Regions from separate parts of the Homo sapiens genome. Here all the other regions are linked to region 3. The links are contacts of gene promoters, found by promoter capture Hi-C in human tissues and cell types (Jung and others, 2019). All regions are on one chromosome and are shown on one strand. Each heading gives the region's core, a stretch centred on a gene start or on the middle of the fragment in contact. The rest is flanking DNA. Distances are from core to core; before and after follow the strand shown. Region 1 holds the start of PRSS27 (serine protease 27). Region 2 overlaps NAA60 (N-alpha-acetyltransferase 60, NatF catalytic subunit). Region 3 holds the start of PKMYT1 (protein kinase, membrane associated tyrosine/threonine 1).

Region 1 (4,871 bases), core at 2,114-4,613, 260 kb after region 3:
ACTCCTGGACTCGAGTGATTGCCTGCCTCGGCCTCCCAAAGTGCTGGGATTAGAGGTGTGAGCCACCACACCTGGCCAAAAATGTCTGTATTTCACTTTCACACCTGACTGAGAGTGTGTGGCTATTGCTGCTTACTGACCAGCACCCTTCCCTCTTCCTTTCACCATGCCCAGCCATGACTTCTAACCTTAGAAAACTGTCCCCCTTCCAGAGAGTTGATAAATGTCCAATTCAATTTTTTTTTTTGAGACAGAGTCTCGCTCTGCCACCAGGCTGAAGTGCAGTGGCGCGATCTCGGCTCACTACAACCTCTGACTCACAGGCATGAGCCATGGCACCCCGCCCCAATTCTATTTTTGAAGGGAGGGACTGATTATTTTAAAAACATGGCCGGGCATGGTGGCTCATGCCTGTAATCCCAGCACTTTGGGAGGCCGAGGCGGGTGGATCACCTGAGGTCAGGAGTTCGAGACTAGCCTGGCCAACATGGCGAAACTCCATCTCTACTAAAAATACAAAAATTAGCTGGGCATGGTGGCACAGGCCTGTAATCCCAGCTACTAGCGGGGCTGAGGCAGGAGAATCGCTTGAACCTGGAAGGCAGAGGTTGCAGCGAGCCGAGATCGTGCCACTGCACTCCAGCCTGGGAAACAGAGCGAGACTGTGTCTCAAAAAACAAAACAAAACAAAACAAAACAAAACAAAACATAAAAATCTTTCTGGATTGTAATGCCCTCTTCATTTGTTTGGTGGGTGGTATGAGGAAGGGGCCCATTCTCAGCCCTGGGTCCGTGGGCTCCAGGTACAGGGACATGGAGGCGAGGTCTGGGTTCCCGATCCTCTAATCGCTGGCGTGGCTGTGCCTTGTTCTTCAGGAGCCCAAGTTTCCCTGGCGTCCTCGCTTTCTGATCTGCATCTTTTTTTTTTTTTTTTTTTTTTTTGAGACAGAGTCTCGCTCTGTCACCCAGGCTGGAGTGCAGTGGCGAGATCTTGGCTCACCGCAAGCTCCGCCTCCCGGGTTCAGGCCATTCTCCTGCCTCAGCCTCCAGAGTAGCTGGGTCTACAGGCGCCCACCACCGCGCCCAGCTAATTTTTTGTATTTTTAGTAGAGACAGGATTTTACCGTGTTAGCCAGGACGGTCTTGATCTCCTGACCTCGTGATCCGCCTGCCTCGGCCTCCCAAAGTGCTGGGATTACAGGCGTGAGCCACTGCACCTGGCCCTGATCTGCATCTTGACTTTTGTCACTTTCTTGATTTTAAGGCAGAGACACCCTTAGAGGAATGGGCTTAAAAGGAGGGTTGGGGAGCAGACACCAAGGAACACACAGAAAGGTGCCAAGAGGAAATAGTTACCTGCGAGGCTCTAAGACTGCCTCTGAGATCCCATCAGTGACCTGACCATAGGGTGCTGGAGAAATGTGGTCACCCAGACACTTTGAAACACTTTCCGTGGTTGATAATTATTATTCTCCTTTTTTTTTTTTTTTTTTTGAGACAGGGTCTCACTGTCTCCCAGGCTGGAGTGCAGTGTTGCAATCTCGTGTCATTGCCATCTCCGCCTCCCGAGTTCAAGTGATTCTCCTGCCTCAGCCTCCTGAGTAGCTAGGATCACAGGTGCCCGCCACCAAGCCCGGCTAATTTTGTATTTTAGTAGAGACGGGGTTTCACCATGTTGGCCATGCTGGTCTCGAACTCCTGACCTCAGGTGATCTGCCTGCCTTGGCCTCCCAAAGTGCTGGGATTCCCGGTGTGAGCCACTGCACCCAGCCCGTCGCGGTTTATAATTAGAGATTTCTCTGCTAAATGATGTTCTCTCTCTCACACTGAGGTGAGGTCTGTTTGGGTCACCTTTGTATTCCCCAAACCGGGGACAGTATTGGGCTCAAATCTGCTCAGAAATGACTGACTGACTGAATGAATAAATCAATACATGAATGAATACGTTTGGAGTCCCCTCTTCCCACTCCTCGCCCTCCCTCCTTCCCTCCAGACCCCCAGGGGCTGCCCAGCCCGCCTCCCACCCCCGACCCGGGAACTCCAGGGACTGGACGGGGAGGGAAGGGTGGGAGGAGGCGGTGGAGGCGGAGGCGGAGACGCGGGAGGGCGGGGCTAGGGAGGGCGATGCGGGGAGCCGGAGCCCGGACCATGAGGCTGGGAGCGCCCCTTCTGCACCCCTGGCCGCCCGCGCCGCGCCCCGCGCCCACCAGAGGGCAGCACCACGACGCGCGCGGACAAGGCTGAGGCGGGAACGGCCGCACCCCCAGCCCCGCCCGGAGCCGCCCGGCCCCGCCCCGCCCGCGAGTACCGACCCCCGGCGCCGGCGGGGAAACAGGTCCGGCGCCCCCGACCCCACGGCCCGGCCCCACTCTGTCTCTGACGTCAGCGCCGTGCCCCAAATAACTTCCTCCCCGAGCCTCTTCCGCCGCGGCGCCGCGCCCAGAGCCAGGCGGGGACACCGAAACGGTAACCCCGGCCCGGCCTTCCCGGAGCCGCTTCCGCCCCGCCTGGTGCCAGGAAGCCCCCGCCCCTTCCAAGGGATGGCAGCCGGGGCCCGGGTCGGCCGCCTGGGCCGCGCTGGCGCGCGCCTGAGGAACTTCTGGGGCCTGCTGTCCCGGGAGGAGGGTCGCTGCGGCCAACTCCGGACCCCGCCCCATGTCCCATCGCCTCCCCTGCCCTCGGCCCCGCAAACACCCCTGGCCTTGACTTTCCCACCAGCGCGGCCCAGCCCCACTGTGTTCCATCGGCGCTCAATAAAATACTGAATGAGGCCGGGCGCGGTGGCTCACCCCTGTAATCCCAGCGCTTTGGGAGGCCGAGGAGGGCGGATCACGAGGTCAGGAGATCGAGACTAGCCTGGCCAACACGGTTAAACCCCGTCTCTACTAAAAATACAAAAAATTAGCCGGGCGTGGTGGCACCTGCCTGTAATCCCAGCTACTCAGGAGGCTGAGGCAGGAGAATGGCTTGAACCTGGGAGACGGAGCTTGCAGTGAGCCGAGATTGCGCTCCAGCCTGGGCGACAGAGCGAGACTCTGTCTCAAAAAATTAAAAAAAATAATAATAATAATAATGAATGAAGCTGGACGGACTTCGCGTGCACCGCGGTCAGCTCGGGGTCTGCTGGGGGGTCTGGGTCAGCTCAGGGTCCAGGAACCGAGGCCAACGGCACCCCGTGCTGCGCTGGGGTGAGGGGTCTGCCCTGGGGTCTCGGGGTTCAGGGCTAGGTCACGGAGGAGTCGGCTCTGGGCGCTTCCTTCCTGAGGAGAGGAGCTGGGCAGGCCGGGCCGACGGGTTGGGCCGCATAGCCGGGCCTGTGCTCATCTCCAGCATAAAACTCCACTTCATGGAGCCTGCACCTCGCTCGTGCTCCAACGCTTCTGCCACCGCCGACCACGGCCCTGCGCCCCAGCCAGGCCTGAGGACATGAGGCGGCCGGCGGCGGTGCCGCTCCTGCTGCTGCTGTGTTTTGGTGAGTCGTGAAGGTGCAGGGTCCTGGTGGTGCAGTCCCCCACCAGGCTCCGCTGCACTGCCTGGGGCTCCGGCTCAGCCCCCTACTCCCTGGGACAGGCTGGGGCTGTGGGACAGGCCATCATCCCTCCTGCCCCTGAGCAGGTGGGAAGGCTCCAGATGTGCCAAGTGGGGAGTCCAAAGTGGGGAGGCAGGGTGGGAGGTGTGCGCACAGGCCCCAGAGGACCCCACCGGCATAACTGGGCAGCACCTCCTCCCATGCCTCTCCGCGGGCACTGGTGTGCCAGCTCTGGCCAGGCTCCCTGCTTCCTGCCACCTCGGCCTCTCCCCCCATTCTCTAGGTGAGGACAGGGGCCTCCTACGTGCAGGATGTGAACTCAGGCTCCAAGTGCCTGGACCATCATACTCGGGGTGGGAGGGTGGCCGAGCCGAGGGCTGCTGCCTGTGCCCGGAAGCCCCAGCAGGCTGGCTGCAGGCTCAGTAGAGAGCTGGGGGCAGGGGGTGTAGGTGGCAGAGGGCCCTGTCTCCTGCTGACAGAGGAACCGGTGATGCGCCACCGTGCCCTCTCCCAGTCCTGGGTCAGGGACAGCAGGTGCCAGCCAGGGGGCCCCACCTGCCAGGCCCCTCCCTGCGGGCCGGGACACTCTCTGTCAGGGAAAACCTCTCACATTCCTGGGCTAGCCTAGCCAGTCTGGCAGCCACCACACTTCCCTGTCCTCAAGTCACCTCCCAGGGCTGGGTCAGGTCATCCCAGGCTGCAGCTTAGCCAGTACTCCAGGCTTCCTTGTTCTCCTGGGTGGGAGGGCACCAGTGGCCCCTCAGTGGCCCGGCCTCCCCCACCCCATGCCCCCAGTCTCCCAGCACAAGGATGGTGCCCTCTGAGCAAGCCATGTGCACAGGAGGTGGAAGGCTGTGACTGCCCCTGAGCGGGGTGAGGAACCAAGGTCATTGCCAAAACTCTTTGGCAATGAGTTTTGCAGTCGGTTCACTAACAGCTGTGACCAGAGGCTGGACTCCTGGACACGTCCTCACTCCCAGCCCGAGGGTGGCACTCCCACCAGGTCTCTGGCTGGTGGTACCCACTAAGCTTCACCATCCCCACCAGCTACCAGCGAATCACAGGCCCAGGCCCCAAACAATGCTCCTGACACCCCCGGCACCCCTGGCTGTTGCTTCCAGCCCCCACAGGGCGCCCACCCTGAAGGGCTCAGCTGTCCACATCCCCCATTTCCCATCAGCCCCCACAGCCACACTTGTGTCCATCCACACATTCCCTGAGATCAGGCCCCCCAGATGCAGCCCTTGCCTTCTCGGAGCTCCTGGGCTAAGATAAGACTTGATTCTGGCTCCAGGGTGATGTAGACAGAGCTCCCATCAGGACAGAGAGCTCAAGAGAGAGT
Region 2 (4,360 bases), core at 1,499-3,998, 470 kb before region 3:
GCACATTTCTCAGTAAGTTTGATCACCTTTTCTATTTTTGAGGCATTTATATGTCATCTTTTATAATGAGTGTTACAGATGTATCTAACATATTTTGGTTTTGGTTTAACTTGGGGGAGTTTTCTGACAGTAAACATTTTTATTTTTAGAAGTAATGCATGCCTGTGGTAAATTATTTTAAAGCAAAACAAAAGGATACATTGGTGAAAAATAAGTTACCCTCCCTCCAACTCAGTACCCAAGTTCTCCAGCTAACTCATCTTACCATTTTCCTGGTATCCATTCAGAGATATTATTTACATGGACAAGTACTATATTTTCATAAATAAAAGGCGTGCAAGTGAAATGGAGGCTGGGCTTAGATACTGGATTCTTTTCATTTCTTCCTTCCCCATTCTGGGTACAAATGGTGACCAAGGAAATGTGTTATTACACACATCCTGCCTTTGAGGAGTTACGTGATTACAAGACAATCTGATAAGCACTGCAACAGAGGTGTTTGTTGTACAAACAACAATGGAGCTTCTAGAATGGAACAGAGTAAATGCATTATTTACTAAGTGTCTGCTATACGCTAAACACTGAGTTATAATCCCTCCTGCATGTTCTAATTGACTTCTAACTTACAATGCTTGTACTGTACATTCTAATTTACAATGGCCTTGAAAGTTCAGTATTGTTGTCCTCATTTTACAGATGATGAAACACCCACCCAAGGCTTCTATACCATGCAGAATGATGCCTCTCTCCACTGGCTGCCCTGAGCACATGCCATGAAGAATGAAAGCCAGGAGACAAAGGAACAAACTAGTTCATCATTAAAACCTGTATGCTTTCCCTTGGATCACAACTTTCTTTTTTTTTTTTTTTTTTTTTTTTTGAGACGGAGTCTCACTCTGTCGCCCAGGCTGGAGTGCAGTGGCACGATCTCGGCTCACTGCAAACTCCGCCTCCCGGGTTCACACCATTCTCCTGCCTCAGCCTCCCGAGTAGCTGGGACCACAGGTGCCCACCACCACGCTCGGCTAATTTTTTGTATTTTTAGTAGAGATGGGGTTTCACCATGTTAGCCAGGATGGTCTCGATCTCCTGACCTTGTGATCCGCCTGCCTCAGCCTCCCAAAGTGCTGGGATTACAGGCATGAGCCACTGCGCCCAGCAGGAGCACAACTTTCCTGACTCACCCAGAAAGAAATCCACAAGCTTCCAAAACCAGCCTTCCTAGGCAGACCCTGAGAACATTTTTCCCAGGGTCCCAGAAACAAATCATGAACAAACCACTTCATGGCAAGCCCTGTGGCTTGCTGACCAGCCTCTGCTCTGCCTGAGAGGCCTCCAGACCACCCCAGGAGCACTCCCAGAAGAGCAGAAAAGCTCCATGAGACTAGCACAAGGGACAGTGAATTATCCCAACTCATGGTTCTGAAGGGTTTATTAATGTATGCATGGATCAAAACCCTTTCAGTCAGGAGCCAAATATTTTGCTTCCAAATATTTTGCTTCCAAAGAAATTCTTCTTTAGTTCCTTCTTCTTCTTTTCTCTTTTTTTGAGACGATGTATTAGTCTGTTTTCACACTGCTGATAAAGACATACCTGAGACTGCGCAATTTACAAAAAAAAGAGGTTTAATGGACTTACAGTTCCACGTGGCTGGGGAGGCCTCACAATTACGGTGGAAGGTAAAAGGCATGTCTCACATGGTGGCAGACAAAAGAGGGCTTGTGCAGGGAAACTCCCCTTTTTAAAAACCATTAGATCTCGTGAGACTTATTCACTATCATGAGAACAGCATGGGAAAGACCTGCCCCACGATTCAATTACCTCCTACTGGGTCCCTCCCATAATATATGGGAATTGCAGATGAGATTTGGGTGGGGACACAGCCAAACCATATCAGATGGGGTCTCGCTCTGTCACCCAGGCTGGAGTGCAGTGGTGCGATCTCAGCTCACTGCAACCTCCATTTCCTGAGTTCAAGCAATTCTTCTTCCTTAGCCTCCCGAGTAGCTGGGACTACAGTTGGGCGCCACCATGCCTGGCTAAATTTTTCTTTTTTTTTCTGAGACAGAGTCTTGCTCTGTCGCCCAGTCTGGAGTACAGTGGTGTGATCTCGGCTCACTGCAACTGTCACCTCCCAGGTTCACACCATTCTCCTGCCTCAGCCTCCCAAGTAGCTGGGACTACAGGTGCCCACCACCACGCCCAGCTAATTTTTTGTATTTTTAGTAAAGATGGGGTTTCACCGTGTTAGCCAGGATGGTCTCGATCTCCTGACCTCATGATCCACCTGCCTTGGCCTCCCAAAGTGCTGGGATTACAGACGTGAGCCACCACGCCCAGCACACCCGGCTACATTTTTGTATTTTTTAGTAGAGATGGGGTTTCAACATGTTGGGCAGGCTGGTCTCGAACTCCTGACCTCCAGAGATCTACCCGCCTCACCTCCTAAAGTGCTGGGATTACAGGCGTGAGCCACTGCGCCCAGCCCTTTGGCTCCTTCTTTATGAGTAGATAATGAAAAATAAATTTTTAACAAAAGAAATTCTCCTTTGGTATAAAATGATGCAAGTGTGTAAGACGGATCACCACAGATGATACTGCTTCCTTTGATTAGAACCAAACCAGAGGTGGCACAGGATGACCACCACGTGGCTACACAGACCAATCTCAGAGGGTCAGGGCAGCACACTGGGAGAGTCTCGTTCTCCACTAACATTGTCAGTGTGCCCTGAGACTGGGCTTACCCATCAGACTCACAAGAGACTGATGCTTAAACCAAATCTTGTTTACTTCTTTATAGTTTAAAGAGGCTGGCATACTTGTACTGTATCCCTGTGTACCTAACGTAAGAATATACTCATTTACCCTCCTAGCAAAAAAGTGAAAGCATTTGTTTCACTAGGCGCCTTCTATCATTCAGTACTAAAAATTAAGAGAATATTTAATACTTGACAGGTCAAAAATGGATTTCACTTAAGTAGGCTTCCTCTGACTATGAGGGCATCATTAATAGCAGGACACAGAGCGCTTTGACTCACTCTCTGGAGCTCTTCTCCCAACTCAGGCTGGCTCCGCACTTCCTTCCTCCAGGTACAGCCTTTCTGTATGCTGCAGGGGAGAAAGACACAAGGCCATCACTTCACTCCTGGCCATCCCATCTCTACAACTCATAGGCTAATGAGTGTCAGACAAACCCTGGATCTCAGAGTATCAATCTGATGGGCCCTTTTGGGGAAAAATTAACTATCTAAACATGTAGTTCTCTAAACTACAAAGCAACCCATGTTTTTTTTTTTTTTTTTTTTGAGACAAGGTCTTGCTCTGTCATCCAAGCTGGAGTGCAGTGGCACAATGCTAGCTCACTGCAGCCTCGAACTCCTGGACTCAAGTGATTCTCTTGCTTCAGCCTCTAAAGTAGCTGGAATTATAGGTGTGAGTGACCACGCCCAGCCTCCAACCCATCCTTTCTTCTCTGTCCTCACTGTATCTAACCTGCATTCTCTGTACCTCTTACTACCCTCCAGGAGTCTTTGGTTGCAGCTTCTAGTAACGATAATTATTCAGTATGAGTAGGTCAAGAATCTTTCTCTGGAAGCACCTCTGCCTCAGTGACTGAAAAAGAATTCTGTTGGGAGTTAACACAGACCAAGCCAGTTTTTGGTAACAGAATTAACATGTTGAAGGTACGTTTAGAGCCCTGAGCTTTTTTCTAATTAAAAGACTCCTATTAGTTTCAACTCAAGGCTAAATGAAACTAAAAAGACTCCTATCCAGCTAGAAGTTGTGCTAATTTCAAAACTGTGTGAGCCTCTTGTTCTTGCAGGCATGACTTGCAGCCATTGTCCCCTTATAAGACTGGAGACTAGGTAGCAACAGTTTTCTAACTGCTCAATCAAGCATTCTGAACACCAGTAAGAAAACCTCTTGCTGAAGTTGGGAGAAAGATAATCTTGCTTACCTAGGCCCCCTTAGTGTAGGTGAGAAGGCTCTGTGTCAGTTTCCGATCAGTATCAACTTCCCATGAAGGATACGGTAAAGGCGGTAAGAACCAGAGCCATACTTATGTTTAAGTAATAGACCTTAAAAGGCAGTACCATCTGGGAATGGAAAACACACCAAACGTAGTGAGCAATTCATTCTGGAAATCATGTTAAACATCGCCAGGGAAGATACCCCATTTACCTTGAAGTGATTACACATTGCATGCCTGCATCAAAATATTTCATGTACCACATAAATATATACACCTACTATGTACCCATAAAAATTAAAAATATAACTACCACTACCATTTTAACGCATAGTCTTCAAAAGCAACTTTGTTATTGTTTTTGTTTCATAACCAATTTTACTCCCAAA
Region 3 (4,831 bases), core at 964-3,463:
CTTTCTTTTCTTTTTTTCTCTCCCTTTCTTTCCTTCCTTCCTTTCCTTTCCTTTCTTTCTTTCTCTTTTTCTTTCCCTTTCTTCCCTTCCTTTTCTTTCTTTTTTCTTTCTTGAGACAGGGCCTTGCTATGTTGCCTAGTCTAGAAAACTATTATTTTTATCCCCATTTTACACACGCAGAAACTGGGGCAGGCAGGATCGCAGCCCTAGTTTCCCTCACACCACGCACTTATCTGCTCCATCTACTTATTTCCATTTACATATATTTATATTACAGCCTTTCCTCACACAGTGAAATTTACATCGGAAGCATGTGTTTCCATGCTTTTTTTTTTTTTTTTTTAATTATCATTGTGAATCAGACTTTAAAAAATGGGCGGTTGGAAGGGGACCTGTTGGGGAGATGGGGCTGGCAGAGGTAGCCCTAGGCAGCTGGGGAGGGGCCTGTGTGTGCCCCAGGCCTCCTGGGGGCCAGTCTGGAGTCATCAACAAGGATCCTGCCTGAGTCACTGGGGCACAGCCGCCAGAGATGCGAAGGACAAGGAAAGGTGCAGGCAGGTGGGCTGCCGCCCCCAGCCAGGATCCCAGCCTCTCCTCCCCCACACTGCTGCTCCATGCACAGAACGTTTACAGAGGGTGCAGGAACTGAATGGGTGGGAAGCTTTGCAGTCCATGACCTGTCAGAGACTTGGGGAGGATGGAGGGTTTGGGGGACTGGTTCTGGAGGCCAGGGCTAGAAGGAGCAGGTAGTCAACAAGTAAACTCACAAACAAAAGATAGAACATCGGACAGAGATCAGGGCAATAGCAAAAATAAGGCGGAAGGAGAGGTGAGAGTGAGAAGGCCAGCGTTTGGGGGAGGGTTGGCCGGAAGCGTACTCCTCCCACCCAGTTAAACAGATAAAGAGCCCCTCGGTGAGGGAAGGAACAATCCCTAGCCCGACTTGCTCCGCGAGGGCCCCTGCTAATCACTTTAGGGGATCATCCCAGCGTCCTCAGCTGTTTTTTTTTTTCCAGGAGAGGAGACTAATCCGAAGCTCAGAAAGGCTCAGTGCATTCCCAAGGTCGTTCAGCCAGGAGAGCGCTGAAGGGATCTGAGCTGAGAGCAAGTCTCAAACTCAGAGAATGGAGGAGCTGCCCCGGAAGTGGCTGCTCGAGGCTGCAGTGAACTATGATCCTGCGGCCAATCGCGGTGGCTCACGCCTGTAATCCCAGCCTTCTGGGAGGCCGAGGCGGGCGGATCGCTTGAGGTCAGAAGTTCGACACTAGCTTGGCCAACATGGTAAAACACCGTCTCTACAAAAAAATGCAAAAATTAGTTGGGTGTGGTGGCGCGCGCCTGTGGTCCCAGCTACTCAGGAGGCTGAGGTGGGAGGAACGCTTGAGCGGGGGAGGCGGAAGTTACAGTGAGTCGAGATCGCCCCACTGCACTCCAGCCTGGACAACAGAATGAGACCCTGTCTAAAAATAAAATACATGAGCCGAGTGCGGTGGCGCGCGCCTGTGATCTCACATACTCGGCAGGCTGAGGTTGGGAGAACCGCCTGAACCTGGGGACTGCACCACTGCATTCCAGCCTTGGTGACAGTGAGACCCTGTCTAAAAAAAAAAAAAAAAGTATCTGAGGCCTGTTGGCAGGGAAGCTGCAGGCAGGCGAGGTCAGGCCAAGCAGAGTCCTGCCTATCTGGAGAGCTTCCTGGAAGAGGCGGCTTTTTCTGGCTCCCGAAGCCGTGCGCTAGGGGTTGGGGGTCGTGCGTCTGGCCTCCCACCGCGACCCTGGTTCAGAACACGGCCGGAGTGAGAAGGGGGGTGCCGGGACCCAGGAGGCCGTAGGGACTTCCTGGTCCTACCCGGAGTAACCCTGGGGCTACGCCTGCTCCGAGCACCGGGATGGCGGTCCCTTTTATGGACCCAAACACTACGCCAGCCCAGCGAGGGCGGTGGGTGTCGGGTGCGAGGCCTGGAGGGCAGTGGGCGTCCCAGGGACTGGGCGGCTGAAGCCCCGCGCAGCGACTCAGAACCAGGCCGCCACCCACGCCCCGGGCCAGCGCGGAGAATCCTGTGCGCCTGCGCAGTGAGCGGCGGGGCGGCTCGGCGGCGCGCACGCAGCACGAGGGGCGGAGCCTCGGAGCCCGGGCACCCCTGACGGGCTGCACTGGGGAGGGGGAGGAGCCTCGAGGCCGGTTTGGAATTTTTGGCGCGAGCAGCTCCGCGCGCGTTCACGGGCCGTTCCCCCTCACGGGAGTCCTCCGCCCGGGCGTCCGGAACAGTCGACGGCAGACTCCGGCCCGCTGAGCCACCCGAGGGGTCCCGTGGCCTCCGCGGACCCGGAATCTGGGCCCTCGCGGACCCGCGCCCCGCCCAGTCGCCCCAGGTGAGCCCAGACCCCGCCGTGAGGGGCCTCGGCGTGGCCACCTCGCCGCTCCCCTCCGCCTCGCCAGGTCTGCGTTACCCCTGCCCCTCAGGCCTCCCCGGCGGCCCGCTCGCGTCCCCTCAGGCCCGCCCCCGCGAGCCCCTGCCTCCCGTCCTCCCCAATTCCTGGTTCCCTTGCCTCGAGCCCCTTCCCAGCGGCGGTCCCGCCCTACTCGCCCCTCCCGGAGACCCCGCCTGCTGTCCATCAACCCCGCGCCGCCGCCCTCCCCGTGACAGTCCTTCCTCCGTGACAGCCCCTGCCCCGGGACAGCCTCTCTTCTTCTGCAACAGCCCCTCTTCCCTCGTGACAGCCCGTCCACTGCTCTGTTCGCCAGGGCTTCCCCACACCCACGGAGTGAAGTCAGCCGCGGCCCTGCCTGGGAGGAACTTACCGTCTACCGGGAAAGGTGGCCAGCAGATGTGTCGGGCCTGGTGAGAGGGTGAGGCGAGACGGCCCGATCGCCCAGGGCCCCGGAAGCTGCGGAGGTCACCCCCGCCTGGCCTTAGCTCAGGGACACCCTGGATTCACGTGGGAGCCCCTGCTCCTGCCTCCCCCGTCCCACCACTGAGGCTGTTGGGCCAGGCCAGTCATGCTAGAACGTAAGTCGTAGGGCAGGGACGGTGGGAGAACTGGGTTAAGATGCACAGGCCCAGGTCCCCGAGTGTGCCAGGGTTGGGCCTGGAGGCTGTGCTTGTGACCAGTGACCTCCAGGATCCCAACACCCTGGCTCCTGACTTGGAGAAACCCTGGGCTGGGACTCTGAGGTAGTTAGAGTCAGAGGAAGAGTCTCCACAAGATGGAGGGCAGCCTGCCAGCCAGGCCCAGGTAGCATCGCTCCCCTCACCCCTGTACTCCCTCAGGTACTGGAGACTGCTCTTTTTAATTTTTTATTTACTATTATGTATATTTTTTTGAGATGGAGTTTTGCTCTTGTCGCCCAGTTGGAGTGCAATGCCGCAATCTCGGCTCACCGCAACTTCCACCTCCTGGGTTCAAGCATTTCTCCTGCCTCAGCCTCTGAGTAGCTGGGACTACAGGCATGCACCAGCACGCCCGGCAAAAATTTGTATCTTTAGTAGAGATGGGGTTTCACCATGTAGGCCAGGCTGGTCTCGAAGTCTTGACCTCAAGTGATCCACCCACCTTGCCTCCCGAAGTGCTGGGATTACAGGCGTGAGCCACCACACCCAGCCGCTCTATTGTTTTTTATAATACTTTGGTGCACCAGCCTCACCAACATGGTGAAACCACATCTCTACTAAAAATATAAAAATTATTCTAGTGTGTTGGCACACGCCTGTAATCCCAGCTACTCAGGAGGCTGAGGCAAGAGAATTACTTGAACCTGGGAGTCGGAGGCTGCAGTGGGCCGAGATCATACCACTGCACTCCAGCCTGGGCAACAGAGTGAGACCCTGTCTCAAAAACAAACAAACAAACAATACCTTGGGGCATAAAGTGTTCCACGGTCCAATCCAATTAAATTTTTTTTTTTTTTTGAGACAGAGTCTCGCTCTGTTGCCCAGGCTGGAGTGCAGTGGCATGATCTTGGCTCACTGTAATCTCTGCCTCCCAGGTTCAAGCAATTCCCCTGCCTCAGCCTCCCGAGTAGCTGGGACTACAGGCATGCACCACCACACCCAGCTAATTTTTGTATTTTTAGTAGAGATGGGGTTTCACCATGTTGGCCAGGCTGGACTCGAACTCCTCACCTCAGGTGATTTACTCACCTCAGCCTCCTAAAATGCTGGGATTACAGGCATGAGCCACTGTGCCTGGCCAGATCCAATTAATTTTGAGCTCCTTTGACAGGGTGGCTTTTGAGGTCAGTGAGGTTTGTTCTGACAGCAGGCAGGCTCTTCCTAGCTAGCTCTTTCTCCACTTCTCTGTGGTAAACTAGCTGGCCTATGGTTCAGCTGGTTGCCCTAATGCGGGTACCAGTCTCTTCTTAATGGCGCACCACCAAAACTTCCACTGATTTTGACAGCCCCTTTAAACTTGAACTTCCCTACGCACTGTTTCAAATCAAGCCAATTTTCAGGGGGTTGGTGGGTGGGGAGAGCTCTATTTATGACCTACGTCTACCCCTAGGCTAAATCTCTGTCTGAGCCATGCTGTGGAACTGGGGGCAGGACAGCGGGGCACCTCTCTGAGTGCTGCTATTGCTTTAGGAGCAGGTCGCTGGGTTGGGCAGGAGCCTCTGGCCTTCTTGGTTGCCCTCTCCCAGTGTGGAGCCTCCTTCCTACAAATGAGCTGGGGCTCCATGTTCCCAGCCTGCCGGGCCTGAGATATAGCCTCTATTCTATGCTTGGGGGCAGGTGGAAGAAAGGAGCCCCTGGCCTGTCTGCCACACTCAGCTGGAATTTAGCCTCTGCCATGTGGAGCTGGGAGGGTTGAGAAGTGCTGAGAACCTGGCCCT

Evidence for each region. The method cuts DNA at HindIII sites, captures the fragments that hold promoters and counts their contacts. A contact is called where the count stands out against the background at its distance.
Region 1: the fragment with the promoter of PRSS27 here is called in contact with the fragment with the promoter of PKMYT1 in region 3 in 4 of the 25 tissues and cell types used here (dorsolateral prefrontal cortex, lymphoblastoid cells, mesenchymal stem cells and 1 more).
Region 2: a fragment that was not itself captured here is called in contact with the fragment with the promoter of PKMYT1 in region 3 in 3 of the 25 tissues and cell types used here (dorsolateral prefrontal cortex, lymphoblastoid cells and spleen).

Annotation. Positions count from the first base shown.
Region 1 is chr16:2,718,716-2,723,586 of GRCh38, reverse strand. It overlaps PRSS27 (serine protease 27), which reads left to right and starts at 3,363. Exons shown (of 6, transcript NM_031948.5): 1 at 3,363-3,472. The coding sequence starts at 3,427. RefSeq lists silencers at 980-1,149, 1,833-1,902, 2,033-2,792 and an enhancer at 2,526-3,093. The HindIII fragment of the contact is 19,281 bases long and covers 1-4,871 here.
Region 2 is chr16:3,447,220-3,451,579 of GRCh38, reverse strand. It overlaps NAA60 (N-alpha-acetyltransferase 60, NatF catalytic subunit), which reads right to left. Exons shown (of 8, transcript NM_001083601.3): 2 at 3,040-3,109. Among named protein-coding and RNA genes, the nearest start is that of NAA60, 5.7 kb to the right of the region's middle. The HindIII fragment of the contact is 7,237 bases long and covers 1-4,360 here.
Region 3 is chr16:2,977,828-2,982,658 of GRCh38, reverse strand. PKMYT1 (protein kinase, membrane associated tyrosine/threonine 1) reads left to right here and starts at 2,213. Exons shown (of 9, transcript NM_004203.5): 1 at 2,213-2,373; 2 at 2,747-3,011. The coding sequence starts at 3,002. RefSeq lists enhancers at 894-1,770, 1,771-2,646, 2,647-3,523 and silencers at 1,880-2,239, 2,250-2,479. The HindIII fragment of the contact is 14,611 bases long and covers 1-4,831 here.